Regions from separate parts of the Homo sapiens genome. Here regions 1, 3, 4, 5, 6 and 7 are each linked to region 2. The links are contacts of gene promoters, found by promoter capture Hi-C in blood cells and fetal thymus (Javierre and others, 2016). All regions are on one chromosome and are shown on one strand. The core of a region is centred on a gene start or on the middle of the fragment in contact, and the rest is flanking DNA. Distances in the headings are between cores, read along the strand shown.

Region 1 (3,733 bases), core at 303-2,802, 1.2 Mb after region 2:
AATAAATACTATAATTGGACAGAAGCTAAAAAAACAACCGTTAAATCTTATTTATTTATCATAATAACAAGACGACAAACAATTAGTGTTTTTGAAGATATGGGATCATAGGTACTTGGTAGATATTTTTAACACTTGTACTTGAGACTGCAAAATAAAGGTCTGATGGAATACATAAAATCACTTAGTGAAAGGATACTCACATGGTCTATAAGTAACACCCCACAGATAATATGGTTTTGCAATACAGATCTGAAATACTGTTATCTTAACCAAGTGAGCAAAACTTAGCATCTCTAAGAATGGAAAAATCAGACATCATGTGGCTCTTGGTGTGATGCAATGGAAAATTTACAACTTAACCTACATAAAAAGCTTCCCTAATGTATTAAACCTAAATCATGAAGAAATAATCAAACAAATCTAAATTGCAGGTATTCTATGAGAAAACTAGGACCCACTTTTCAAAAATGTCAGTGCTAGATTAGAAATGATTAAAGAAACACAATAATCAAAAGCAATGTGTTAACTCTGGCTGTAGACAAAAACAAAGTGGCTATAAAGAACATATTTGGAACACTGGGGAACTCTCAATACAAACAGTATACGAGGTTATATTAGTGTATCAATATTAAATTTTTTGGGTATGAAAATTTCATGGTCTTGTGATCATGATGAAAATGCCCATGTTCTTAGAAAAATATGTTCAAATATTTAGATGTAAGGTGTCATTATGTCTGGATCTTATTTTCAAATTGTACAGACCAAAAGATGTGTATTCACATACTCATAAAATGGTAAGTGGAGAATCCAGGTGAAGGATAAATGAGTATTCATTGTACTAGTCTTTCTATAGGTTTGAAATTTTTCAAAATATAAAGTTGAACACAAAAACTTCAGTGTACTGTTGAAAAAAACTGAAGAGAGAGAGCCTTAAGATTTAACCTTAACTTCAGAATAAGAAGACAAGCATAGAAGTATGAGTTCTTAATACATACTCTTTTCTCCTCGTGGCTAATGAAAGCCTTATTTTCCTCTAATGTTTTATCTAGATCTTCATCAAGAAGTTTAGTTTCCACATTTTGAGTTTCTTCAGCGTTTTCTAGCTCCTCAACCAAATCCTCGTCTTCCATCAAATCTTCTAGACTATTTTCCCATGAAATGGTGGCTCTTTTTACATTTAATATTTTACTGTTTGAATTACTGTCTAGTGATACATCTTGAGAAGATTTGACAGGTCCAAATAATTTCTCTTGAGAGGAATTTAAAGTGTCTGGGACACAAACCTGTTAAAATATTCAATGTGACTTTTAAAACAGAAAAGACAAGAACTGTCCACTAGAAAATGATTATTTTATAAATTTAAGTCAAATGAACACTCAAGTGTTAAGGAAAAACTATTCAAACAAACATACAAACAGGAATCACCATCCCTAAAAGAACATTCTGATAGGAAAAAAGCTACTTACACATGTAAACTAGAGGAAAAATCTATCTTCCTGGGCTAAGTGTTCAGTATTAATCTTAGCAGAGGGTTTTCCAATCACCCAGAAGTACCAAATGAACAAGATGAATGGCAGAGCAGACAATTCATTCCAAAAATACTCATTAATTTATAACTGATGTTTATTACTAATTCTTATTACTAAAGGTCATTTTAATCCTAGCATGGGCAACTTTCAATCCTTTCTCATGTCTTCCTACTTGGTTAAATATTTACCTTTTTAATTTTCAATTATTTCCTAGGCTTACAGTATTAAGTAAAAAATATTTATTTCAAGAAAAACTGTTAATATTCTAATAATAAGAGGCTTAATAAAATAAATATTTACTTTTTGTGCAATGGCGGAGAACTTCAATACATTGAGTGTTTCATCATAGGCTAAATAACATTGGCTGATATTGACAATCATACAAATTTTCCCTTTACCATTAAAAAAACTTTGAAAATAGTGAGTCAGTTTACTTTCCCGGAAAGGCACATGCTGTTGAAACCTACAGAAAAAATTTTCAGAAAACATTGTAAGTTAAAAAACATCTCATGAAATCAGGGTGCTGAGACATTTTACAAAGAAATAATTAAGCCACCTATCATGAAATTAAACTTTAGGGTAGTGATTAGTTTCAGATGTAATAGTCCTTCTCAGTTTTCTTTTTATCTTTTCTTGTTTGTTTTTGTTTTTGTTTCTGTTTTGAGACAGGGTCTAGCTCGGTTGCCCAGACTGGAGTACAGTGGCACAATCAGAGCTCACTGTAGCCTCAACATCTTAGGCTCAAGCGATCCTCTCGCCTCTGCCTCCAGGGTAGCAGGGATTACAGGTGCCTGCCACCACACCTGGTTAATTTTTTTATTTTTATTTTTAGTAGAGATGAGGCTGGTCTTGAACTCCTGGGCTCAAGCAATCCTCCTGCCTCGGCCTCCAAAAGTGCTGGGATTACAGGCATAAGCCACCATGCCTGGCTGTTTGTTTTAACTGCTGCTACTTACTAACAATAACCCACTATGTAAATTATAAAGAAAACCACATTTAACTGGGTTATGTTCCCTAGTATAGAGCAAGTATATAAGAGATGTCATGAAACACCCTAAATAGAAATGGTGAAGGCTGATTTATATTTACTCAGCCTAAAATGCTAATTAATGTAAAAATCTATTGCATCTAGAACCACACACAATGCATTAATAAGAATAAAGTGGTTTTAGATCCTAAACCAGCATTAGAAGCTTCTCATTTACAGTGTCTATTGGTATAGATTTGCCATGGAAAATACTGACTTTACCTGATGAGTTACTGGCATCAACTGACATTTCTATCATTGTCTTTAATCCAAGATCTCTTAAGTACTTGAATCACAATCTATACACAGTCATTACATAAGAAGCAGTTTAAAAATCAAAAAAGAACTTTCTAAAAACAAAAAAGTTGAAAGTTTAAATATTGTAATATTTAATATGCTAATAACACTTTCAGAAACACTTACTTTGACTTTTCACTATTCTTCAAGACGTTAATACACTTTCCCAGAGTCAATAAAGAAGTGTTGATATTCCCAGTCTCTCTTAACCTTTCACCTTCATTCTGTGTCTTCATAGTTCGTTCTGAACCAGCAAGATCACATAAAGATAATCTGAATTAAGAAAAAAAAAGTACTTTAAAAGTTCTTCAAAACAATTACAAATAATTAAATTTAAAGAATATTCAACTTACTCACTGACTCGAATTACACGAGACATTTCAGAATCTTCAATCTGTAATATTTTAACAGTGAATATGCTGTGACTGAAATACAAAGATCAAATGTTATCTTATCATTTTTAATTTCTGCATTCTAAATAGGAGAGACAAGTATTCAAATCAATCTTATTTATACCCTAGTATAACTACAGTCCACCATTGCATTTTCCAATTAGCTGTTAAATATTTCAAGCCAGTGTTCTACTGTCACTTACATACCCAAATGCCTAAAATCACCTTTTGCCTAGCTCTAAATCCCTCAAATTATATCCTGACAGTTCAACTTCTATTAATAGTATCATTTATAATAAAGCGACATTTTGTTTGAAAAGATAATATTAGTTAAAATGATATTATGTACAGCTAGCCAATACTCTGAATACATACCTAAAGCAAAGCATACATTTGACCTATAGATCCGGATCTTGTATTGTCCCATGCCCAACTGACTACGGGAACAGGGCTCCTTCTCTAAGAAAAAGCCTGCTTTAATTATC
Region 2 (3,493 bases), core at 763-3,262:
CAGCCTAGTCTGTTGGAGAACGAAGGCAAATAAGGCAATTAAGCAAGTCATTGTATATAAATACATGTTTTTTATAAGTAAGGATTCTATGGAAGTACATAGCACAGTGAAACCTGGTGTAGGGGTCACAAAAGGCTCCCTGAAGAAAGTTACCCTTAAAAACAAAAAAAAAATCACAAGTATGCCTGTACCTTGGGCTTCACCTTGCACCCAGTTAGTCAAATCAACCAGCCACACCTCCTCCCTATTCTTCTTTACCACACTCCCAAATCTGCTCTAAACTTCCTTGTTATACCCATTTAGGATATCCTTTTGGCTACTAAACAATGTCCCTACCGTTCTACAGAAATGTCAACTAGGATCTGTTTCTCCACAAAACTTTTTCCTAGACTACTCCTCATCTGGCAGCTTAGGAGTACTTACTTCCCCAATCAGGCTTTAGGGTATTTTAATTTACACAGTATATTTCTGAAGCTTATTATTGGTTTCTTGTATCACATCAGAAACTGAGAACCAGGGCTCTGTCTTTCCTATTCTTTGCAAATGTCCACTATTTAGTTCCAGACTCATCAAATAGCAGAGCAGTCCTTTGTCTTTGACTTGTAAGTTGAGGCAACTTTATATGCCATGAATTCCATTTAATTTACAAACAAATAACCACTAACAATGTACATATATTACCACACCTCTTCCAAGTGTATTTTAAACTGGGGGAAATTCTCTAAAGAAATCATTATTAACTTTTCTTTTTTGTATTAATTTTTTTAATGTGTTCAGTTTATTCCACAAGCATTAACTGAGTAACTGCCATGTACTGGTGCCTGCAGAGTGAACGTGTTAAGCACAGTAAATAAAAGGATAAGACATGGCAATTCTCTTAGGAAGCTCATGATTTATTCAAAAATGGGATGGCGTCAGGAAAAGCCTCATTGAGGAGGTAATAATTGCGACAAACTACACCTAGGAAAACTTATTTTACAGGATCAAAGAACATTAGCGCCAAATGGCCCAGATCATCATGTCTACTTTCGTCTTCGTGCTGATGAGCAAAGTACCACAGAGATAACGTTCATTTAGTGGCAGCAGTGGAAAGGGACAGTCATTTCGCCACGGATACTTCATAAAGAGAACAATAAAAAAGTGGTGTGATTCACTTTGCCAAGAAGTGGTTGTCATTTCTAGCACCACCTCTGAACAGTATCAGTAATCAGAACTCACAATGAGCTGAAAACTGTCTCTGAGGAGCAGATGTTACTACACGAACCTCTTGATTCTTTTTAATCTCTCTATTCCAACACTTTACAGTCTACGGAATACAGAACCCATGACTAACTCCAATAGTTAAAACAGGTTCTCGTCTCTCAAGGCTTTCGCTTCCCTTCGATTTGGGCCATGCTATCCTCCTCCTCCACCTCCACTCCGCTGTGTATGTCCTCTGCCCCCACCTACCCTCTCTCTGTCTAGATAGTATTGTTCCAACACTCCCACGTCCTCCTCCTTCTCCGAGCCTCCACGGCGCTTCCTGTCCGTGCCCCAAATTCCAGTATTTGTTTAGACACTGTCGTGAGAATCAGGAAGGGCTGATAGTAACTTAGAAGCTTAGAAGATTGTACCCTTGGAGTCCAGCTCCGGCTTCTGTCACCTATCAGCTGTAGGCCCCTATGCAAATCCCTCGCCCTCGTTAGGCCTCAGTTCCCTCATTGCAGGAAAGTAGCTGAACCAGATAACAACCCCCAGAACCTTCGAGTTTCCCGCGCTAGGAATCAGACCAACACCTCGGCGGGCATCAGCCTCCAGGGACATCCCAGAGACTCTGGGAGACCTGACCGAGACCCATCAGGAAATAGTTACTCCGGAGTGTGGCCCGATGGTCTGGGTGGCATGAGGTTGGCCAGGCGCGAAGCCGGGGCAACTCACGGTGAGCGGCTGTCTCCACAAGTCCGCGCAGAGCCTTCAGGTCAGAACCCGCTCGCAGGTCCAAATCTGCAAACACCGCCATGCTGAAGTCCCATGACCGTCCGCGCGCGCCAGTCTGCGCAGCCGCTGAGCCCGCCCCTCAGGCATGCTGGGAGCTGTAGTTAACCTGCGCAGTCCGTCTCTACCTCCAGTTGACTAGGGATTCGGAGAAACTTACTTGCTTTGCTTTCATCTACCACCAGAATTTGTGTGTTGAAATCAACAGCTTCATTTCAATCTCTCTTTGTCTTCTTCTGAACGACAATGTTTGGTTCCCCCTGGAGGGGTTCCAATTCCCAACTATTCAATACTCCTATAAAATAGTGTAGAAATGAATTCATTCAAAATGCACGCACACGGTATCTACTTAGTGCTGCTCATGAATCAGAGAATTCTGCTAATGGGTGAAAACGCTATTTAAAGAGTCTTAAAGAACACGTTTTCCTTTCCTTTCCCTAAAGTCCATTCCGTTGTTTACAATGGACTTACCGGGAAGAAGGCGTTTGTGTGTGACGGACTCTAGGACTTCAAAAGAGAACTACCCCAAGACGAGGGTCTTTTTACCCAATCAGAACTGTTGATGTCAAAGCCCGCTATTCTCTGTGGCAGTCAACATCTTCAACCACAAGATGGCGGGACTCGCTCTAGGACGAGCGGTTAGAGCCAACATTGATTTAGCCAAAGACATGTTTGAAAAGGGAGGTGCAAAATTGAGATGTTTTACACTTTTCCAGCTGAGAAATGTACAAGGTGACGCATATCCCACATATCTGATGTTTCCACTTTTTTCCGACTTAGTGTAAATGATCTATTGAGGATAATAATCAATTATACTACAAAAGTGTGACTATAGTTTACATCAGTGCTCTCAAACTACCTGTGATGAAGGATCAGTTTCTCCCTCCTTTTCCTCTACCCCCAAACTCTTCGCGAACCAGGATGTGGTCCTTTATGCATTACCAGTAAGCAGCCTGGCCTCATGGGAATCACAAATTTGACAACACTCGAACTGCCCTATACCTGGCTGAATAGAATCTGCTGATCAGGAGCTTGGATTATCAGGACAATGCCAAAGTACTGTAAACTTTCTAAACATCTTCACTTTTTGTTTGTTTGTTTGTTTTATTAACGTGCGCACAGCAACAACAATCACAGAATTAGAGGCTCGGTCATTTGACCTAGGGAGTATCCTAGTTGGTGGCCTGCTGAGTTTTCGTTTCGTTTTGTTTTGTTTTTAGAGAGAGTATCTCGTTATTGACCAGGATGGACTCTAACGCAAGCAATCCTCTCTCCTAGCTGTGATTACAGGAGCCCACCCACATGCTTCACCCATCAATTTCTCTTATTTACTGATCACAAACAGTTCACAGATAGTCTCTCGTCTATGGACCACACCTTAACTAGTACTCCTTTATGCGATTTTCTTGTCGGTCTCAGAAGGGAGGAAGGATCTGTTCCATGCAGTAGCATGCAATTCTCTTCTTGGTTAACTTTTGTAAAGAAGAGATATTTTGCCTTTTCCAGTACTTGATATTTC
Region 3 (3,557 bases), core at 319-2,818, 1.1 Mb after region 2:
TAAAAATACTAACTGCTTTTTGTTATTTAAGATTCATGGCAACTATGTTCAAAGATTCACATCCTTTACAGCCTAAAAGAAAAATGACAGATTTTAATATACTACAAATCAAACACACTATAGCTTCAAATTATTAGAAAATGTTTTAATACTCTAATGAAGAATGCATATGAAAAACTCAATTTCTTGTTCCATTATTTAAGAATCTCAAACTTTTTAAGTTCTCTCAAAAAAGAATTATCATAACATCTATACATAATAGGGAAATAATTACCAAGGAAAAATCAATAAAGATATTCTGAGAGAAAAATACTGATTCAAATTTCCAAAGTTTATTGAGTAATATAATCCAGGAATACAAGAAAAACTTTAAAAGCTAATAATGACATGCAGGGAAGAAAATGGAACAATCACAAAATCAAAAGGTACCCACGCAAGTGAAGGTCAATTGATTTCTGCTGTTGCCGGTAATCTAATGCCATAAACGTAGGGAAATCGAGGTACTATGGACTAATATATATATTAATTTCTCACCCAAAAAAGCTAATATAGGTACATCCTTATACTAGTTTCCATCATACCAACCCCCTCTGAAACCTTTCAGTACATCTTGCCAGGATTTCCAGAGGGAAGTTATCTAACTGGCAGCAGAGCCTTCTCTTCTATTCCCTTGTGGAGCTTTACTGCCAAAACTCCATTTTCACACTCGCTAGAGAGCTCAAAAACGGAAGGAAATTAAATGAAAAGATGCCCCATAAAAAGCATAGAGAAGGCCGGGCATGGTGGCTCATGCCTGTAATACCAGCACTCTGGGAGGCGGAGGCAAGTGGATCACGAGGTCAGGAGATCGAGACCATCCTGGCTAACACAGTGAAACCCCATCTCTACTAAAAATACAAAAAACATTAGCCGGGCATGGTGGCACGTGCCTGTAGTCCCAGCTACTCGGGAGACTGAGGCAGAAGAATTGCTTGAACCCGGGAGGTGGAGGTTGCAGTGAGCCGAGATCACGCCACTGCACTCCAGCCTGGGCAACAGAGTGAGACTCCGCCCAAAAAAAAAAAAAAAAAAAGGCTTGAAGATGCCCTTATTATAGTAGCTCAGAGTGGTATGGTTTCAGAGGATTCTTACATTGTTTTAAGCTTTATGTTCCAATAATACATACATGATAATCACATATTCATAATATTTGCTAATTTTGTTTAAAAAAATGAGGCTTCAAGTAATAAACACCATCTTCATCAACTATATAACTAACAATAATAGAGGCTATGTGCTGCACAAAGATGCATGTAAGGACTGCCTCGGTTTCCATTCTGGCTCTAGCACTTACTACTGAGTGAACTTAGACAAGTCTTATTAAGACTAAGACAAGTGAACTTAGACAAGGACAAGTTCCCCCTTATCCACAGGGGATATGTTTCAAGATCGCCAGTGGATACCTGAAACATTGGATAGTATTTCAAGATCCCCAGTGGACAGTATTGAACCCAGACACCATCAATCGAAACACACTTCTGTTTGCATCCTCCACCCACAAATTTAATGCTTTTTCCATCTTAGCTAAGCAATTATCATGAATTGTGGCCATAACTTTTGCAGTGAGGTGCACCAGCAAAACTAACATAAATTTCTTTTTTCTTCTTCGCAATTTCACAGATGGAAGATTTGTTCTTACCATAGATCTTAGCAACCTCAGATTACAATTTTTTTTCTTTATTTATTAAGTTAAGAACTTTTACCTTTTCATTTAAAGGAAGCCCTTTACAACAACATTTTGGCTTATCTGAATTGCCAGCATCACTACTTTTGCATGTTGAGACCATTATTAAGTAAAATAAAAGTTACTTGAACACAAACACTGTCCCTGATACCATGACACGTGATCTGATAATTGAGATGACTAAGTGATTAATAGGTAGCACTAACAATGTGGATATGCTAGGCAAAGGGATAATTCTAACTCCAGGCAGGACAGGATGGCACAAGCTTTTGACCCACTACTCAGAATGACCTGCAATTGAACTGTTTATTCCTGGAATTTCTATTTAGTATTTTCAGCTCATGGTTGGCCACAGGTAACTGAAACCACAGAAAGCAAAACTGCCAGTAAAGGGAGACTACTGTATCCCTCAATGTCTGTTTTCTTATCAACAAAATGGAAGTTAAAAACAGTGTCTATACCCGATATTGTGTGAGGATTAAGATAATATGTCAACTCAGCATAGCAGCTGGCCTAGATTAAATTGCTATAATTATTATTATTTGCTTTAAAACTACACATTTGAGAAATAGAAAATACTTTTAATACCCATCATTAGAGTAATGTTAAATAGTCATCTATATGAGGAGGGAGCCTCAACCACCTGGCCACAGACAAATACTGATCCATAGCTTGTTAGGAACTGGGCCACACAGCAGGAGGTGAGCGGCAGACAAGGGAGTGAAGCTTCATCTGTATTTACAGCCACTCCCCATCACTCACATTACCGCCTGAGCTCCGCCTACTGTCAGATCAACAGAGGCATTAGATTCTCATAGGAGTGCAAACCCTATTGTGAACTCTGCATGCAATGAACCTAGGTTGTGCATTCCTTATGAGAATCTAATGCCTGCTGATCTGCCACTGTCTCCCATCACCCCCAGATGGGACCGTCTAGTTGTAGGAAAACAAGCTCAGGGCTCCCACTGATTCTACATTATGGTGAATTGTATAATTGCTTCATTATATATTACAATGTAATAATAATATAAAGTGCACAATAACTGTAATGTGTTTGAATCATCCTTAAAGCAGCCAGCCCCTACCCTGGTCCATGGAAAAATTGTCTTCCACAAAACCAATCACTGGTACCAAAAAGGCTGGGGACTGCTATCTATACTTGAAAAGAGATACCTCTATAAGTAGCAATAAAAAAGACTTTAACAATACAATAAATTTAAAAGGAGCTAGGGCATGGTGGCACACCTGTAGTCTCAGCTACTAGGGAGGCTGAGATGGGAGGATCACTTGAGCCCAGGAGTTCAAAGTTACAGTGAGCTATGATCACGCCACTGCACTCCAGATTGGGTGACAGAGTAAGACCCTGTCCCAAAACAAAATAAATAAACTTAGAAAAAAGAGCCCCCTTTTAATCACACCTGAATTTATGCTAATGAAATAGCTTTGAGTGGAGGCTCCTTTGAAATAGCTTAAGGGTAGGGCTACTCACCAAAAGACCAAAAATGATTAGAGTTGGAAATTTCAGTCCCACCCACCAAACTCTGTGGAAGAGAGGAGGGTTGGAGATTGAGTCATGAGAACTATTGTACAGTGAGGTTCAGAGAGTGTCCCACTTGGTGAGCACACTGAGGTCTTAGGAGGGTGGTACACCCAGAGAGGGCACAGAAGCTCTGCACCACCCTCTGTCCCCCTTAATCTGTCCTGTGTATCCCTTCTATTTGTCTGTTCTTGAGTTGTATCCTTTATAATAAACCAGTAAATTTTTTTTAAATAAGTAAAAATAAAAACTACATACTTTAAAAAAAAAAAAAAAAAGACAGCACAATTAAAATGA
Region 4 (3,731 bases), core at 816-3,315, 1.1 Mb after region 2:
CCTGTAGTCCCAGCTACTCAGGAGGCTGAGGCAGGAGGACTGCTTGAGCCTGGGAGTTCAAGTTCAGCTGCCAGAGAAACATAGTGAAACCCCATTTCTTTTTTTTTTTTTTAAGACTTTTCCTTCTCATTGTCTGCTTAATAAGCTTCCATTCATAAGATACAATATGGTATCACCTTCTTTAATCCATTTCCACAAACACTCAGGCAAAATTCATTTCATCTTCCTCAGTGTTCCTTGGAGTACTCACTTTATATTTCTACTATAACACTTAGCCCATGAAGTAAAATCAAACAAGTCATTCACTTATGTATCTACCTTACTAGATTCTTCACTCCTTGAGGATGACAATCATGTCTTATTGATGTTCGTATCCTCAGTGCTTAAAAAGGTTCCCAACTCTGAATGCTCCCAATAAATGTGTTTTAAAAAGAAATTTAAAAAGTAATTTTATCTTCAAAAATTTTAAGTAACATAGAATTTTTATCTATTTCATATCCAACCTAAGAATCTCTATATTATCCAAAGTTATTCACAGAACCCTAAGCCCAATACAAATTAAGGAAACTCACGAGTTGTTATTGAAGACTGGTGACAAAGCTACTAAATGGATACAATTCCAAAAAATACTATTTAACACAATGTTTATTAAAGCAACCTTTTATGAGAGCAAATTATCCCTATTTTCTCATTAGTAGGATTTCCTATTTCTGACCATCAAGTTTGTTTCTATTAACAAATCTACTGCTTTTAAGATGAGATTAACATCATTTGGGCATATAATCTCCCAAAAGAATTTCACCTCTCCTCAAAAGCCTCTAGTTTCTTTCACACAGCCCAGAGCACACACAGCTAATTGTGCAGTAAGGTATCTTCAGCAACTTACTTGTACGTGTTATTTAGTAATAGTGGATAAAGAGAATAAATAAGTGGACTGTGCTGCCAAATACCCACCTCTATTTTATTTCTGGAAATTTCAAAACTTGTCGATAGAGGTTCAGTTTGAAGTTTGTCAGGATCTGCTGAACTAATACGTTTGGGCTTGATATCCATGATTTGTGTTTCCTAAAGTAAGGAAATATTAAAGCAACAGGGCATTGTAACCTGAAAATATATTGAAGAAAACTTCACATAAAGAATATAAAATCAAGATTTGTATGAAACTAAACAATGGAAATTACTAAGTAAAGACACCTTTAATTACCACCTAGCCCTCCTATTTCTCTTTCAACCTCAGATACTCAGGAAAGGCTGGGTCACTTTCCAGTTTATTGACTCTGATCTAAGGAGAAATTTGAAAGACTGCTTGCAACTTCCAAGTGTTCTGCCCACATTCTCTTGCTTTACTTTCATCGCAACTCTGCAGGTAGGTCTGGCAAAAATCATTATTCCTACTTTCCAGATGAGGAAATAGAGAACGACACACGTTAAATGGCATGGTCAAGGTCTGTACTGAGTTAGAATTGCTCAGTATCCCAACAGTTGCTTTTGATAACACAATTTTGAAAAACTGGAGGCTTCTCAGGAATGCAACTATAGCATTACAGTACAAAAGACCATAAGGAAAACTAAATCTTTTCTTGCAGCACATTCTTCCTCCTATTTTCTCAGTCATAAAGTTCTATTTCTAAACTCTACTTAGGCGATTTATAAAGAAATAGATTACATTTTTAAACTTAATAAACTGTAACACAGACCTCCTCATCACAGCCATCAAAATCAAAAGTCAAGTAAACCTCTTATGTCACCTCCCCATTACTGCCAAATAAGAAAGACTCTACTGAATTCATAAAAGGGAAAGTAACTAGCATATATTGATTTCCACTGGAGTAAGAACTGTGCTACTTGTTTTACAATCTTCATTAATTTCACAACTCTGTTAGGAAAACACTATTACCTGTTTTAGATAAAGATCAGAAATGTTAAGTAATTCTTCTCAAAGGTCCCAAAACCACAGCGACAGCAGTTGATACCTAGTTTTTCTGACTTTCTAGGATATATTATTAAACAACACAATACTACCTCTTTTTAAAGCAAGTAATCTCTCTTACAATAATAGTCTTTTGATGTGACACACACATACATATTTTTCCTATTGTCTGAAGGCTTTAAAGCAGAAGATTTTTAAGTACAGATTATTCCAGAAAGACTAGCTTCAGATGTACCCAGATTCTATTTACTGGGAAGCAGCTATCTGTAAAAGGCAATTCTCTCCTCTTTCAGGATTTCCAGTCTCAAGGTAATATAAAAGTAACAGCTGAATGACTCATAATGTCTCTCTACCATTAGGCTTACTTTCAAAATAATTTGTATCTTTATAAAATAAAGTTAAGGATGGGCCCAAGTATTCAAAATCACCAAGAGTTCATGTTGAATCACATTTCCATATTTTAAACGCAGACTGGGGACTAAACCATAAATTGTTGATTTTCTAATTACTCTACCAAAGTAATTAGAAATACTAATATTTTCTAATTACTGAGAGATATAACCAAAATATTGGAGAAAATGCTACATCTCAGTCATTGATTGACAAATCAATCTTAATGATAAATTTCAAGACTCTAAATCATGAAAAATTTCCACATTTTAAATACTCTGATTCCTTTTTGGTCTATTGAGACTTACACTTTTTTATTCTTTAAGAGTTAGTCAATTAAGTAATTACTATGTTCAATTAAAAAGGCATAGCAAAAAAGACTACTGACTATTTTAGAAGTCTCTGATATGATCCTTTTTAGTTGTTCAATTTCATTATCTTTCTGTACATTACTGGATATCAGTGCTTTTAGCTGTATTTCTAAAGCTGCAACCAGTTGATCTCGTTCTTCTCGCCACTTTTGAAGGTCACTATCTTTCTCTGTCAGCTGGGCTGTCAGTATTTCCTAATCAGGAAATAAAGAAAATATTAAAATCAACCTTGATATATTATGAATCTAAGAATGTTTAGAAATTATTATATGTAACACCATAAATATAGCTGCAAACAAGATTACAAGACAAATTAAGTAGTCTAGATAAAATATTTAACTATAAAACAACACATATCATTTTATAAATTAAATGTCCATGTTATTTTTATCCATATCCCATCTCATTCCAAAAATCAGCTTACTGGTAACTTCTTTCAATACACAATTACAGCTATAGCTTTCAAACTAGTATCAACATTTCTGCCAACGTTTGGAAAATTAGTGGGTAAAATTACAGTAATAGCAACAAACAACAGAAAAATGAAAACAGAAAACAAGACCATTTACAATAGGTTCAAAAATCATGAAATACTGATAAAGAAAATGTATAAAACCATAAAATACTGCTGAAAGAGATTAAAGAACACCTAAATAAATAGAGAGATTGGTCTGTGTTGAAGGATCAAAATACTCAATATTGTTAAGATGTCTCCTCCAAATAGATCTAGAGAGTAAAAGCAGTTTTTATCAAAATTCAGGTATGTGTGAATGTGTGTGGAAATGGAAAAGGTGACTCTAAAAATTATATGGAGATGCAAATCATCTAGAATACTCAAAATTATTTTGAAAATGAAGAACAAAATGACAGCAATTATCTATAATTTCAAGTTAGCACAATAATCAAGACAGCATGTAAAGACAGAGAAATCAATGGGACAGAAGAGACGATCTACAAATGCATGGTCAACTGACTTAAAAAAGTGGCAAAAAAATTAAATAAAAGGAAGGACAATCTTCCCAATAAATGGGGCTGGAACA
Region 5 (3,669 bases), core at 50-2,549, 1.2 Mb after region 2:
ATGGCAAGAACCTTGCCTTATACCACTCTGTATCCCCTATAACAAATTCAGCGACTTATGCAGGGATAAAGACTACCTAATGACTTAAAATAATGGTTATAAAGAAAATACTATTCCAAAAAAAAAAAAAAAAGTCGGTCCTAGTCTGTAATATTATCTTTCGTGACAGCAGGCTCCAAGACCTCATTTTTCATTTCAAAAGGCTGCTCTGACTGGAAAACTGCATATTTACCCTCTCTCCAATAAGAATCCACAATTGGAGACTTTGGTGAAAAATAGCAGAATCTGTTGCTGAATGAGGTTTCTGAATGTGGTCTACAACACAAAGCCTCAAAAAAAGTCTTCACAACTAATCGATGAGTATTTTATGTTATTTTTACAATTTAAAATCTGGAGTCTTGGACATGTAAGATAAATACACTGTTACACTACCTAACCCATAAGGCGTGAACTTCTGTAAACTAGTAGTTTAGCAAGAAATATAAGAGAACTGTGCCAGACATGCATCACTGAACCAGCGAGCGAATCGAGATGGAGAAAGCCTTCTAAACTGGGGAATGACAGCAGTCACTGTGCCACAAACTCTTCAGCCTGGCACTGCAAAACCCTAGAAGGGCAAGCCCCAAGGACCAGTAGGAGTAGTCTGGAAATAAGTGCACAGAGGCTACCACAGGGCTCCCCCCGCAAAAAGGCCGTGTTACCTACCAGCCGAGCAAACTGCTCACCTCAGAGCTTCAGAAAACTAGGTGTGGCAAAACAGGCCTGTTCCTCAACAACAACAGAAGCAACAACAATAATAATATTAATAACTGCAAACATTTAGTACCTACTGTGTGCCAGCACTAATAACTTTACACATTACCATTTAATCTTCACAAAAGCCGAAAGAAATAGACACTTCATTGCAGCCTTTTAACTGATAAGAAAACTAAGGTACAGAGAGAGATTAAATGAATTGTCTTGCGTCACTCAGCTAATTAGCAGTGGAGGCGAGATTTAAACCGTAACCGAATTAGTATGACTCATTCCTCGCTGCGTACCCCGTGTTCGCATCGCTCCGCAACCCAGTTCCTGACAGTAACCTCCACTGGGGTATGAGCCCTGTCGGAACATGTCCACATTGCCAAAGCCGTTTCCCCACCTTAGGCCCCATACATGCGCAGTCACCCACCTCCTTCCCCACACATTCCCGCGGGTCACCTCCTCACCTGCAAACTTCGCCTGACTAGCCAGACCCGCGAGCAGCACTGCGATGTTACCGTTTTCAAATTCAAACAATGGCGGCCAGGGCACCGCACTGAACGCTGGGAGTAGGTGGGGCGTCCAGAGCTCCGCCAGGGAGCGTAGCCGGCTCGCGCTGCGGGCTTTCCAGTGGCTACCGGAAGAAGCTCTCCAATATGGGGGCGGGTCTTGAAACGCGGGCAGCCAATGGGCGGAAGCAGGCGTGGGCCGCCCTGGTGCTGACGGTCTGGTTTGCCTCCCAGCTCTGCTAGCCGGGCTTTAGTAGTGCGCTTTCTCGCGGCTGTCATAAGTACCACGCTGTTGACTGGGACACCGATCTCCAATTCTGTCCTTGAGGCAATAAAGATGTGGCGAAGGCCCGAGGTGAGGCCACTGCCACTGCACTTAGTCCTGCGACTCCCCTAAGGACGGGCCGAGGAATGGCGGGCTAGCCACTTCCCAGTCCTGTCCCTACGGGGCAGAAAAAGGCTCGGCATCCCGGGATCCGGAGGGTCACTTCCCTCGCTGCATCCCCATTGTGCAACTGCCAGTCTAAAAATTGATATAGGTAAGCTTATGAATGCTAAAACTAATGAATGCAAGATGCTAAAACAAACAATTAACTGAAAGGTTGTAGGGAAGAGGATGTTAGTATCTCAAAGAATCACCCTACAGATCATTTCTTATTATAAAGGGAAAATAGAATTTTACACTGAAGAGATTTATTAGACATACCTTAACCAAGTGAAGATACTTAGCATCGCTAATATCACCCGATAGTATTTGTGCTAGAAATGTTTGACATTAATCATGAGGAAACAATCAGAAAAAAACAATGTAGAATATTCTACAAGACAACAGGCCTAGGCTCTTCAAAAATGTCAGTGTCATGACAGGAAAAAGAAAAAAACGAAGTGGAAAATTACTTTAGTCGAGAGTCAAAAGAAACCAAATGAAATTTGTGAATCTTGGCTGGTTCATAGTTTTTAAAAAAAAAAAAAAACTTCGAAAGACATTTGTGGACAACTGGGGAAATTTAAATATGAACTACATATTAGATGATATTGAATCAGTTTTAAATTGATTGCATGTGAGAATTAATTTGTGATTAAGTGGAAGAATGCCTTTGTTTTTGGAAGGCGCTTGCTAAAGTAATTAGCAGCAAAGTGTCACAGTGTTTGCGGCTTACCTTCAAAAGATATGGCAAAAAAATAGAGAAAGCAAATGTGGCAAAATATTAGTAATTGGTGAATCTAGTTGAAGGGTATAATGGTGTACATCGTACCAGTCTTGCAACTTTCTAAAATAACAGATTTTATAAAATAAAAAGAGGAGGGGGGAAAAGGAATAGAATTCTGATCTTTACCATGGCCTCCCAGGTCCTGCACAATCAAGTGTCAGCCGACCTCACTCCCCACTAACTGTACAGTAAGTTGATCTGCTCTGGATACCTCAAACACCAACTTCTTTCCAGCATGTATGAACCTTTGCATGGGTTGTTCCCTGTACCTAAATTCTCTCTTCTCCATTCAACACGTGGCACTTCCCTTCATCATTTAGGTTACGTCTAAAATAGTACCTTCTTAAAGAAGACTTTCCTGGCTACTGTATCTCAAGTGAGCACTCTTTTTTTATTTGCAGGTTCAATTTCATTTTTATACTTTTTACAACTAGCAATTGTTGTTGTTCCCCCACCCTGTAAAATCTAAGTTCTGTGAGTAGAATAACTGTGTTTTGTTTGGTCGCTAATGTATCCTCAATGACTCTCTAACACAAGACAAGCAAATCAATATTTGTTGAACAATGAATGAAAGCTGATGTGGCTGGGTAGAGACCATGGGGAGGAGTCAGGGGAGTGAATCTGTAGGCATGGGCCAAGGCCAGACCCTGTAAGCCTTAGCCAAGTTACTGACTTGAGTATTACGAAATGCTTACTGGATAACCAGTTTTAAGCATGGGCATGGTGCAATCCAATGTGCATCTATCTTTTGAAAAGGTTAATCTCCTGGAGAAACTAGAGGCAGCCAGGGAGGATGCTGTTGAACCAGTTAGGAGGCTGTTGCAAGAGATCCCAGGAAAAGATAATGATAATGTGGACTTGGAAGATGGCAGAGGAGTTGCAGAAAAGTATCCAGATTTTAAAGGTACTTTTTCCGACGTTTTTCATTTCAGCACCAGCTGCTGGGTTTTTCCCTTAGGGAGATGCAGAGCCAGCTTGATTGGGAAGTGCTTAAGATTTAGTACCCATTCCAAAGAATTCCATCTGTGCCCTTGAAATGAATATTAACATAAAATGAAAAATTTGGTAAGTTACATCAAGCTGATTTTTCTGCCCTGGCCACAGTCTCTACTGTTAGTAATAGCTAACTTTCTTTATGCCAGGTAGTATTCTTAGCACTTTATACTCATTTAATCCTAACAGTAACTCTGTAAGGCAATTTGTTGTTG
Region 6 (3,253 bases), core at 151-2,650, 1.2 Mb after region 2:
TCTTTAAATAGCATAAGGTTAGGGAAGCTAAGAGAGTTGAGATTTGGAGTTTAGTCCCACCTTTGCTCTTAATAACCTCAGCCATCTGTCTGCAGCTCAGTTTCCTGATACGAAAAAAGTATGCAAGAGTGGATAGACCAGAGTGCTCCAGTGGCCCCCATGGTTCTCAAGCTCTGATTCTAGGTAAGGCTCTGCTGGAAGGAATTGCCAGATGCAAGCCCTAGATGCTGCTGAATGCACTGAAGCCCAGGGGCCCAGCAACCCAGTAGCCAGCCAGCACCTGCCAGACTCTGACTCCTCTGTAGATTAATTGCAAATCACGGAGAATATCACAAAATAAATCACACAATAAATACGGCTGTAAGCATGGTTTGTTCCCCTGTCGAAACAAAGGGTGAACTGCTAATCATAATAGCGTAATAAGGAAAACTAGCTTTCTGAGCATTTACTGTGTGCCAGGATTGTACCAGGTACTTTTAGTAGATTTTCTCACAACAGCCCCATTATGGATAGGAAAGTGAGGCCTCAAGAGATTGCATAACTTTGGGAAGGTATTCACCACCCAAATTAGTCCTGCATAGTGAGCATGGACAGTCCCGTTTCCTATTGCTAGAAGTGTTACCTTGAGCATTAACGTTATCTGGGTTTGCTCAGTGGCTGAGTTGGAATTTGAACCCAGTGCTAACTCCAAAGCTCGTAGTGCTGGTCACCACGTGATGCCGCCTTCCCTTCTTAGAAGAGGCAACTCCTTACTCTATAAATAACATGACATTGTCTTTTGAAGTCCTTTCTGGGTGAGGAAAGTGCTTTTTATAGCATGGAATTGCTCCTGTTTACTTGATCTCTTTCAGCACCGATTAATCCTGCCTACAGTTTTGTCCTTCACTGTCCTTACACTGTATTCCTAGGTTTCCTCCCTGCAAAAGACAACTCCATGAGACCACATGGTGTTTGAGTGTGTGTGCGTGCCAGCAAAGAAATTTCACTCCCCTCCCTCCCCAAGTCTGCCAACTTTTCTATAAATAATTGTTCTCCCTCCCCTCAGGCCTCTAAGTAGTTTGGTCACTTAACCAAACGCACAGGCACACACGCGCGCGCGCGTAAGCACACACTCACAAAGCGGGGAGGGTAACGTGAATGACCTTGCAAAGGTATCTTGCTCACTGGGGACAGGATTAGCAAACCTGACACCTCTGCAAATAATTGTCTTCCTCCCGTATTCCTCCTGAAACGGTTCGCTCCTTTCGCTGTCTCTCCCAGACCCATCTGGTTTTCACATCGCCATACAAAGCCCAACCCGCCCATCTCCTCTCTGCAAGCCCAGAGAACTTGATTCCCCATGTTGAAACTCGTCGGTGGCGGTGGCGGGCAGGACTGGGCATGCTCAGTGGCGGGGACCAGTCTGGGAGGCGAGGAAGCCGCGTTTGAAGTCGCGCGGCCTGGGGATCAGGGGAAGGCGGGCGGCGGGAGCCCCGGCTGGGGGTGCGCGGGGATCCCCGATTCCGCGCCCGGGGCTGGCGTGCTCCAGGCCGGCGCCGTGGGGCCGGCGCGCGGGGGGCAGGGCGCAGAGGAGGTGGGGGAGTCGGCAGGAGGAGGGGAGGAGCGCCGGGTTCGCCATCCCCAGGCGCCGGCTCTGCGGCTGCTGAATCGGAAGCCGCAGGGAGGATCCGGGGAAATAAAGACGCCGGAGAATGACCTCCAGCGAGGCCGCCTGAGCCGGGGCCCGCGCACAGCCCCGCCAGCCCCCGGCATGGGCGACCGCAGCGGGCAGCAGGAGCGCTCGGTCCCGCACTCTCCAGGGGCCCCCGTGGGCACCAGCGCCGCCGCTGTGAACGGGCTGCTGCACAACGGCTTCCATCCGCCGCCAGTCCAGCCGCCGCACGTCTGCAGCCGGGGTCCAGTGGGCGGCAGCGACGCGGCGCCCCAGCGCCTCCCGCTCCTGCCGGAGCTGCAGCCGCAGCCACTGCTCCCTCAGCATGACTCCCCGGCCAAGAAATGCCGGCTGCGGAGGAGGATGGACTCGGGGAGAAAGAACAGGCCGCGTAAGTCCCGCTGGGAGGGGAGCGCGGGCGCAAGGCAGACGCAGCGTGCGGGGCCCGGGACTGGGAGCGGCTGAGGCAGGCGCCGCAGCACGCCCCGTGCGCCCCCGCGTCTGCGGTCGAGGGACTGCACAGAGTAGGTTCCCGGGACTGATTCTTTTCCTAGGGGACATCAAGCACTACAGGTCTTTGCCTGAGCCTGCCCTTTGCTCGCTTCTATCAGTAGAACGAGGATTGGACACGAAGCTTGAGCGGGTCCCTAGGTCAAGGATATATAATAAGCGAACGCTCTGTCCGCCCTTCTAATTGGTGGCTGGGAAAACGCAGGTGTGTGAACATTTGCTGGGGTCCAGGAGTGAGGATAAAGTGGGCGGCACACCGAGGGTGCTCTCTCCTTTCTCACCCCTCTCGCTTCTCTGAGCGCGTCCTACTGGGGTTGCCTGCCCTTTGAATCACAGAGTAGCCAGCAGCGTCTCGGGTCTATTGGAGAGCGCAAGTCTGGAGGCGTGGAGTTTAACTACCCCCCAAAATCACAGCCTATTAGAAGCTGTTTCTTCACGGCCAATGAGAGGGTTTTTTGGGAGGGACACACCCACTGATACCATGTGGGCCGGAACTATGTGGACCAATGAGGATTGGAGGTGGATTTTTTTTTTCAACGAAGGGGGAGGTTGAGTTGAGGGTTTGTAATTGTAATGTACACCGGAGAAAGCCGAAGTGCATTATTTCACAATCTAAAGCTTGTATATATAATGGTAGTTTGTAAAGTGTACCTTCCCCACAGGACGCTGTGGGATGTAAATTTGTAGGTCGAGTTTACAGCTGGTTTTTCTTGACTGAAGCTCATTCAACTGGTTACTTCTTTGTGGGTGTCTTTAATGAAGCTTATAAATGGCAAAAAGCAAAGTAAGTACAGTAAATGCTAATAAATGACTGCATTTGCATAGAGGTTATGCTGTTCGATATAGGGAAATTGTTAAGTAGGTTTTGGATTTCTGTGAAAGTTTAATGTTTGGCAAATAACACCTTCACTTTTCCCTGTTTCTATGTCTTTTTGACTCTTAGCTTTTCTGTATTGGATTAAGGTTTCTAAGACCTTGGAAAGCCCTTTGACATGACTGTGGGTGACTCTGGTACTTGTATTTTGTGGGTTTGAAATGTTAAATTTGTAGGTTAAGATTTTGTGTGGAACTTTAAAGCCAAACAGCAGATTT
Region 7 (3,736 bases), core at 145-2,644, 1.5 Mb after region 2:
GTATCTTTTGAGAATTAAATGGAATAATTTACATAACACTTTTAGAAGCCAGGCTGTCACTTAATACGAATTCAAGAAGTGATAACTACCTTTATAACATTTAATATTATTATTATTTTAATTATCAGTACCAACTCCATCTGTTTACAGAGGAGGGTTCATCATAGGCCTGTAATGTGCATTTTCTGGAATTTTTACCTCTTCAAAATTTTGCCAACTGGAGCACTGAGGGGAAAATTTACAAATCAGTATTAAGTAATGGATTTTTTGTTTGTTTGTTTGTTTTTGAGACGGAGTCTCGCTCTGTTGCCCAGGCTGGAGTGCAGTGGTACAATCTCAGCTCACTGCAACTTACGCCTCCCAGGTTCAAGTGATTCTCCTGCCTCAGCCTCCCAAGTAGCTGGGACTACAGGCATGTGCCACCATGCCCAAATTTTTGTATTTTTAGTAGAGATGGGGTTTCACCATGTTGGCCAGGATGGGCTCCAACTCCTGACCTCAGGCGATCTGCTCACCTTGGCCTCCCAAAGTGCTGGGATTACAAGCATGAGCCCCCTTGCCCGGCCTAAGTAATGGTTTTTAAATCAGCTGAGAAATTCCCACATTAGGCCCTTTAGGTAAGGAAGATACGGATCTTCCCAAGCAGATGTGGATCATCTTCAGTCAAGGACGTACCAAGAGCCTAGATTTTCCAGGGAGGAGGCAATCTGTTTATCTTAAGCTCAGCCTGATTGCGAAAACCTGTTGTAAGAGGCCAGCAGTGCAGAAAGTGAGACCAGAAGCCTATGGAGGAAGGCTGTGAGCTTTTCCTACCACATCTCCACTGTATTACCCACAAGACATCAGAGAGGCTGCAAGACTGAGGCTTTCACATTCTTGTGGGTCCTGCTTTTTCTCTGTGGTAAAGAACCTGCAGAAAGCAATGCCTCTACTCAGACAAGCTGTCCATTCCTTCCCCATATCAGACAGAAGTGAATCTGATGGGAAAGAATCTCTCAGATTGGGATCATTTTCTCCCTTCCTGCAAAACTCTTTTCCCATTTCCCTCCCCTTCTTTGGGCTATAGCATGAGGTAAGCTTCCTCAAGTTCATGCTAACAAACATAAAAATGCATTAAACAATTTATGTATGTGTGAACGTGCACACACATGCATGCACACATTCAGTCCATAAGCAGATACTCAAATCGAGGAATTAGAAAACCTGACCTCACTGAGATCTAACCTGTTGAAATAGTATTTAATTACCATTTTTTCAAAAACTTTAGACATTATGGCAGAGGAGCAAAGAAATCCTTACCTCATGGTTGCTGTAAATTAGGCAGCCGTTCTGCAGGGTTTTGCTTAGCCAGGCTCCTCTGAGATCTGGCTATTCTGTCTTGTGGATTTTCAGTTACGTTTAAACCCCAAGACAGTGTTATATAAGGGAGCTAAACAGCAGCCAATGGTGTAAGCTGTGGGTGTGTCCTTGCAAGTTGGAAACCTAGGGAAACCGAAAGGGGAAAGTGAAACTAAAGCTAGCGGAATTCCTGCTGACGGGGGGGGGTGGGGAATGAAACTTTGTTTCTATTTTAAAACAGATAAACTGCAGACCTGCAACCATAGATGTTTCTAGTGCTGCAGAAACCCAATGACTGGCCAGCATTTGGAACGAGATTCACGTCCTCCCTAAAGAACATCAGTCCATTGCTGCCTATTGTGGCAGTTGGTGGCTGGATTCTGGATGAATACACAGAAAAAGGAGAATTGAAGGAGATAGCTCTATTTTCAGTTTCTATATTTAGAAGGAACCTACTATCAAATATAAAAATCTACTCTTAATTAATTGAGTAACAAGGCTTTTGGTTGCTGGTTGCTTTTTGGTTGCTTACTTTTGGTTTCAGCTTGACGGAAATAAGCAACCAATCTGGTTTAGGAATGAAGGAAAGAGACCAATACCTAGAAAGCCTTCTAACCCCTGATGACTTAGGCAGGAGGTAAAAGCAAGGAGGTATGGTTTGAAATAGAGAGCCCTCTATTGCTCCATCATGGACACTGTCATTCTGAATCAAATTCCAGTACAACCTCCACTACAGTTCATGGAATTTGAGTTTAAATAGTTAGCAACTACCTGGCACATAGAAGCATGCAAATAAGTGGTAACTATTATTATTATTATTTTCAGTCATCAAGTTAAAAATAATGATTCTTGGCTGGGTGCGGTGGCTCATGCCTGTAGTCCCAGCACTTTGGGAGGCCAAGGTGGGCGGATGACAAGGTCAGGAGATGGAGACCATCGTGGCCAACATGGTGAAACCCCCTCTCTACTAAAATACAAAAAATTAGCTGGGTGTGGTGGTGTGCACCTGTAGTCCCACCTACTCGAGAGGCTGAGGCAGGGGAATTGCTTGAACCTGGGAGGCAGAGGTTGCAGTGAGCCGAGATCACACCACTGTACTCCAGTCTGGTGACAGAGCGAGACTCCGTCTAAAAAAATAAATAAATAAAAAATAAAAAATTGTTGTCCGGGTGCATTGGCTCAGGCCTGTAAGTCCCAGTATTTTGGAAGGCAAGGCGGGAGGATCACTTGAGCCCAGGAATTGTAGACCAGCCTGGACAACATAGGGAGACCCCAACTCTACAAAAAAACTGAAAAAAAAAGCTGGGTGTGGTGGTGTGTGTCTGTGGTCTCAGCTACTCAGGAGGCTGAGGTGGGAGGCTCACTTGAGCCCAGGAGGTAGAGGCTGCAGTGAGCCATGGTCACACCACTGCACTCCAGCCTGGGCAACAGAGTGAGCCCCTGTCTCAAATAATCATAACAATATATAAAAACAATGTTTCCTTTAAAAAAACCTACCTACTTTGTCTTTTAACATAAGAAGCAGAAGAGGAGCAGGTGCAAGAGTATTTTCCTTTTGGAAACACTTAACTGGGCACACTGCCAGATCTAAACAGTTTCTGCTCAACTCCCTGCCAGACTCATCTCCCATGTCAGCTCTCACCAATTCTGTAAGCTTCCACAGAGAGTTCAACAACTAGTTAGAAAGTTCTACACAAATAAGAATTTCTGAATTAATAGGACAGGTTTTGTCTTGCACTCAGATACATGATCAGGCCATAAGCAAATGCTGAAACAGATGAATTAGAAAACATCTTTTGGGGAGCAAGATGTCTTTGGAATTCTTATGGGAAAAAATGGGTTTTCAATTTGCCAATGCACTAGATAGCATGCAGAGATATGAACAAAAAGTTTATCTTGCCATTGCTGTGAATTTGGCAGCAGTCTTGGTTCTACGGGGCTATGGCCCAGGCTGATTAGGTATTCAGAATCTTGCTTAGTGTCTCTTTGGGCTAAACAAACCCATGAGGGACACAGGATAGAACAGCATTAAGGAAAGAAAAGCCAATCGCGCGCGTGTGTGTGTGTGTTTACAGATAAAAAAGAAAATGGGAACCAGAGAGGATCAAACATTTAGAAAATGAAATTTCAGCACTAGGTTGTGAGTTCATTCCCAGGAGTCTAAGCTGGGCTCTGCAAGGGACTGACCAGTTATGATAAACTGCTTCACCTCTATGAATCTCAATTTCCTCAGCTGAGAAGTCATTTGGAATAGGTTGGCAGATCTCAACCCTCACTGCACATTAGAATCAGCCAGGTAAATCTCAAAAATAATGCTAACTATGCCCATTCCAGAACAATTGAACATATACTTAGGTACAGGCCTCTGGCTCAGTATTAAAAAGAAATCTTCAGCCTG

Evidence for each region. The method cuts DNA at HindIII sites, captures the fragments that hold promoters and counts their contacts. A CHiCAGO score of 5 or more calls a contact.
Region 1: a fragment that was not itself captured here is called in contact with the fragment with the promoter of RPP30 in region 2 in 2 of 17 cell types (M2 macrophages and naive CD8 T cells); the score reaches 5.1 in M2 macrophages.
Region 3: a contact is called between a fragment that was not itself captured here and the fragment with the promoter of RPP30 in region 2, in 1 of 17 cell types (total B cells). The highest score is 6.2, in total B cells.
Region 4: a contact is called between a fragment that was not itself captured here and the fragment with the promoter of RPP30 in region 2, in 2 of 17 cell types (total B cells and naive B cells). The highest score is 6.9, in total B cells.
Region 5: a contact is called between the fragment with the promoter of KIF20B here and the fragment with the promoter of RPP30 in region 2, in 13 of 17 cell types (total CD8 T cells, naive CD8 T cells, naive CD4 T cells and 10 more). The highest score is 8.9, in total CD8 T cells.
Region 6: the fragment with the promoter of PANK1 here is called in contact with the fragment with the promoter of RPP30 in region 2 in 8 of 17 cell types (M2 macrophages, M0 macrophages, non-activated CD4 T cells and 5 more); the score reaches 12.3 in M2 macrophages.
Region 7: a contact is called between the fragment with the promoter of IFIT1 here and the fragment with the promoter of RPP30 in region 2, in 1 of 17 cell types (non-activated CD4 T cells). The highest score is 5.1, in non-activated CD4 T cells.

What each region holds. Positions count from the first base shown.
Region 1 is chr10:89,716,972-89,720,704 of GRCh38, reverse strand. It overlaps KIF20B (kinesin family member 20B), which reads right to left. Exons shown (of 33, transcript NM_001284259.2): 10 at 3,210-3,281; 11 at 2,983-3,129; 12 at 1,833-1,995; 13 at 999-1,286. Among named protein-coding and RNA genes, the nearest start is that of KIF20B, 17 kb to the right of the region's middle. The HindIII fragment of the contact is 2,350 bases long and covers 378-2,727 here.
Region 2 is chr10:90,870,493-90,873,985 of GRCh38, reverse strand. It overlaps RPP30 (ribonuclease P/MRP subunit p30), which reads right to left and starts at 2,012. Exons shown (of 11, transcript NM_006413.5): 1 at 1,918-2,012. The coding sequence starts at 1,999. RefSeq lists enhancers at 1,702-1,761, 1,892-2,161, 1,880-2,174. The HindIII fragment of the contact is 10,238 bases long and covers 1,601-3,493 here.
Region 3 is chr10:89,740,215-89,743,771 of GRCh38, reverse strand. The region is part of intron 21 of KIF20B (kinesin family member 20B); the gene reads right to left. Among named protein-coding and RNA genes, the nearest start is that of KIF20B, 40 kb to the right of the region's middle. RefSeq lists an enhancer at 2,187-2,688. The HindIII fragment of the contact is 847 bases long and covers 1,145-1,991 here.
Region 4 is chr10:89,757,860-89,761,590 of GRCh38, reverse strand. KIF20B (kinesin family member 20B) reads right to left here. Exons shown (of 33, transcript NM_001284259.2): 27 at 2,709-2,885; 28 at 955-1,065. Among named protein-coding and RNA genes, the nearest start is that of KIF20B, 58 kb to the right of the region's middle. The HindIII fragment of the contact is 3,836 bases long and covers 148-3,731 here.
Region 5 is chr10:89,699,220-89,702,888 of GRCh38, reverse strand. KIF20B (kinesin family member 20B) reads right to left here and starts at 1,299. Exons shown (of 33, transcript NM_001284259.2): 1 at 1,209-1,299. RefSeq lists enhancers at 621-1,137, 1,138-1,653 and a silencer at 1,698-1,777. The HindIII fragment of the contact is 4,302 bases long and covers 1-1,796 here.
Region 6 is chr10:89,643,389-89,646,641 of GRCh38, reverse strand. It overlaps PANK1 (pantothenate kinase 1), which reads left to right and starts at 1,400. Exons shown (of 7, transcript NM_148977.3): 1 at 1,400-2,042. The coding sequence starts at 1,751. PANK1-AS1 (PANK1 antisense RNA 1) reads right to left here and starts at 2,528. Exons shown (of 5, transcript NR_184344.1): 1 at 2,443-2,528. RefSeq lists silencers at 1,397-1,876, 2,577-2,626. The HindIII fragment of the contact is 3,186 bases long and covers 1-2,287 here.
Region 7 is chr10:89,390,281-89,394,016 of GRCh38, reverse strand. IFIT1 (interferon induced protein with tetratricopeptide repeats 1) reads right to left here and starts at 1,394. Exons shown (of 2, transcript NM_001548.5): 1 at 1,300-1,394. The coding sequence starts at 1,304. It also overlaps a transcript of LIPA not described here. RefSeq lists enhancers at 665-714, 1,516-1,565, 1,796-1,845 and a silencer at 2,398-2,559. The HindIII fragment of the contact is 1,915 bases long and covers 1,080-2,994 here.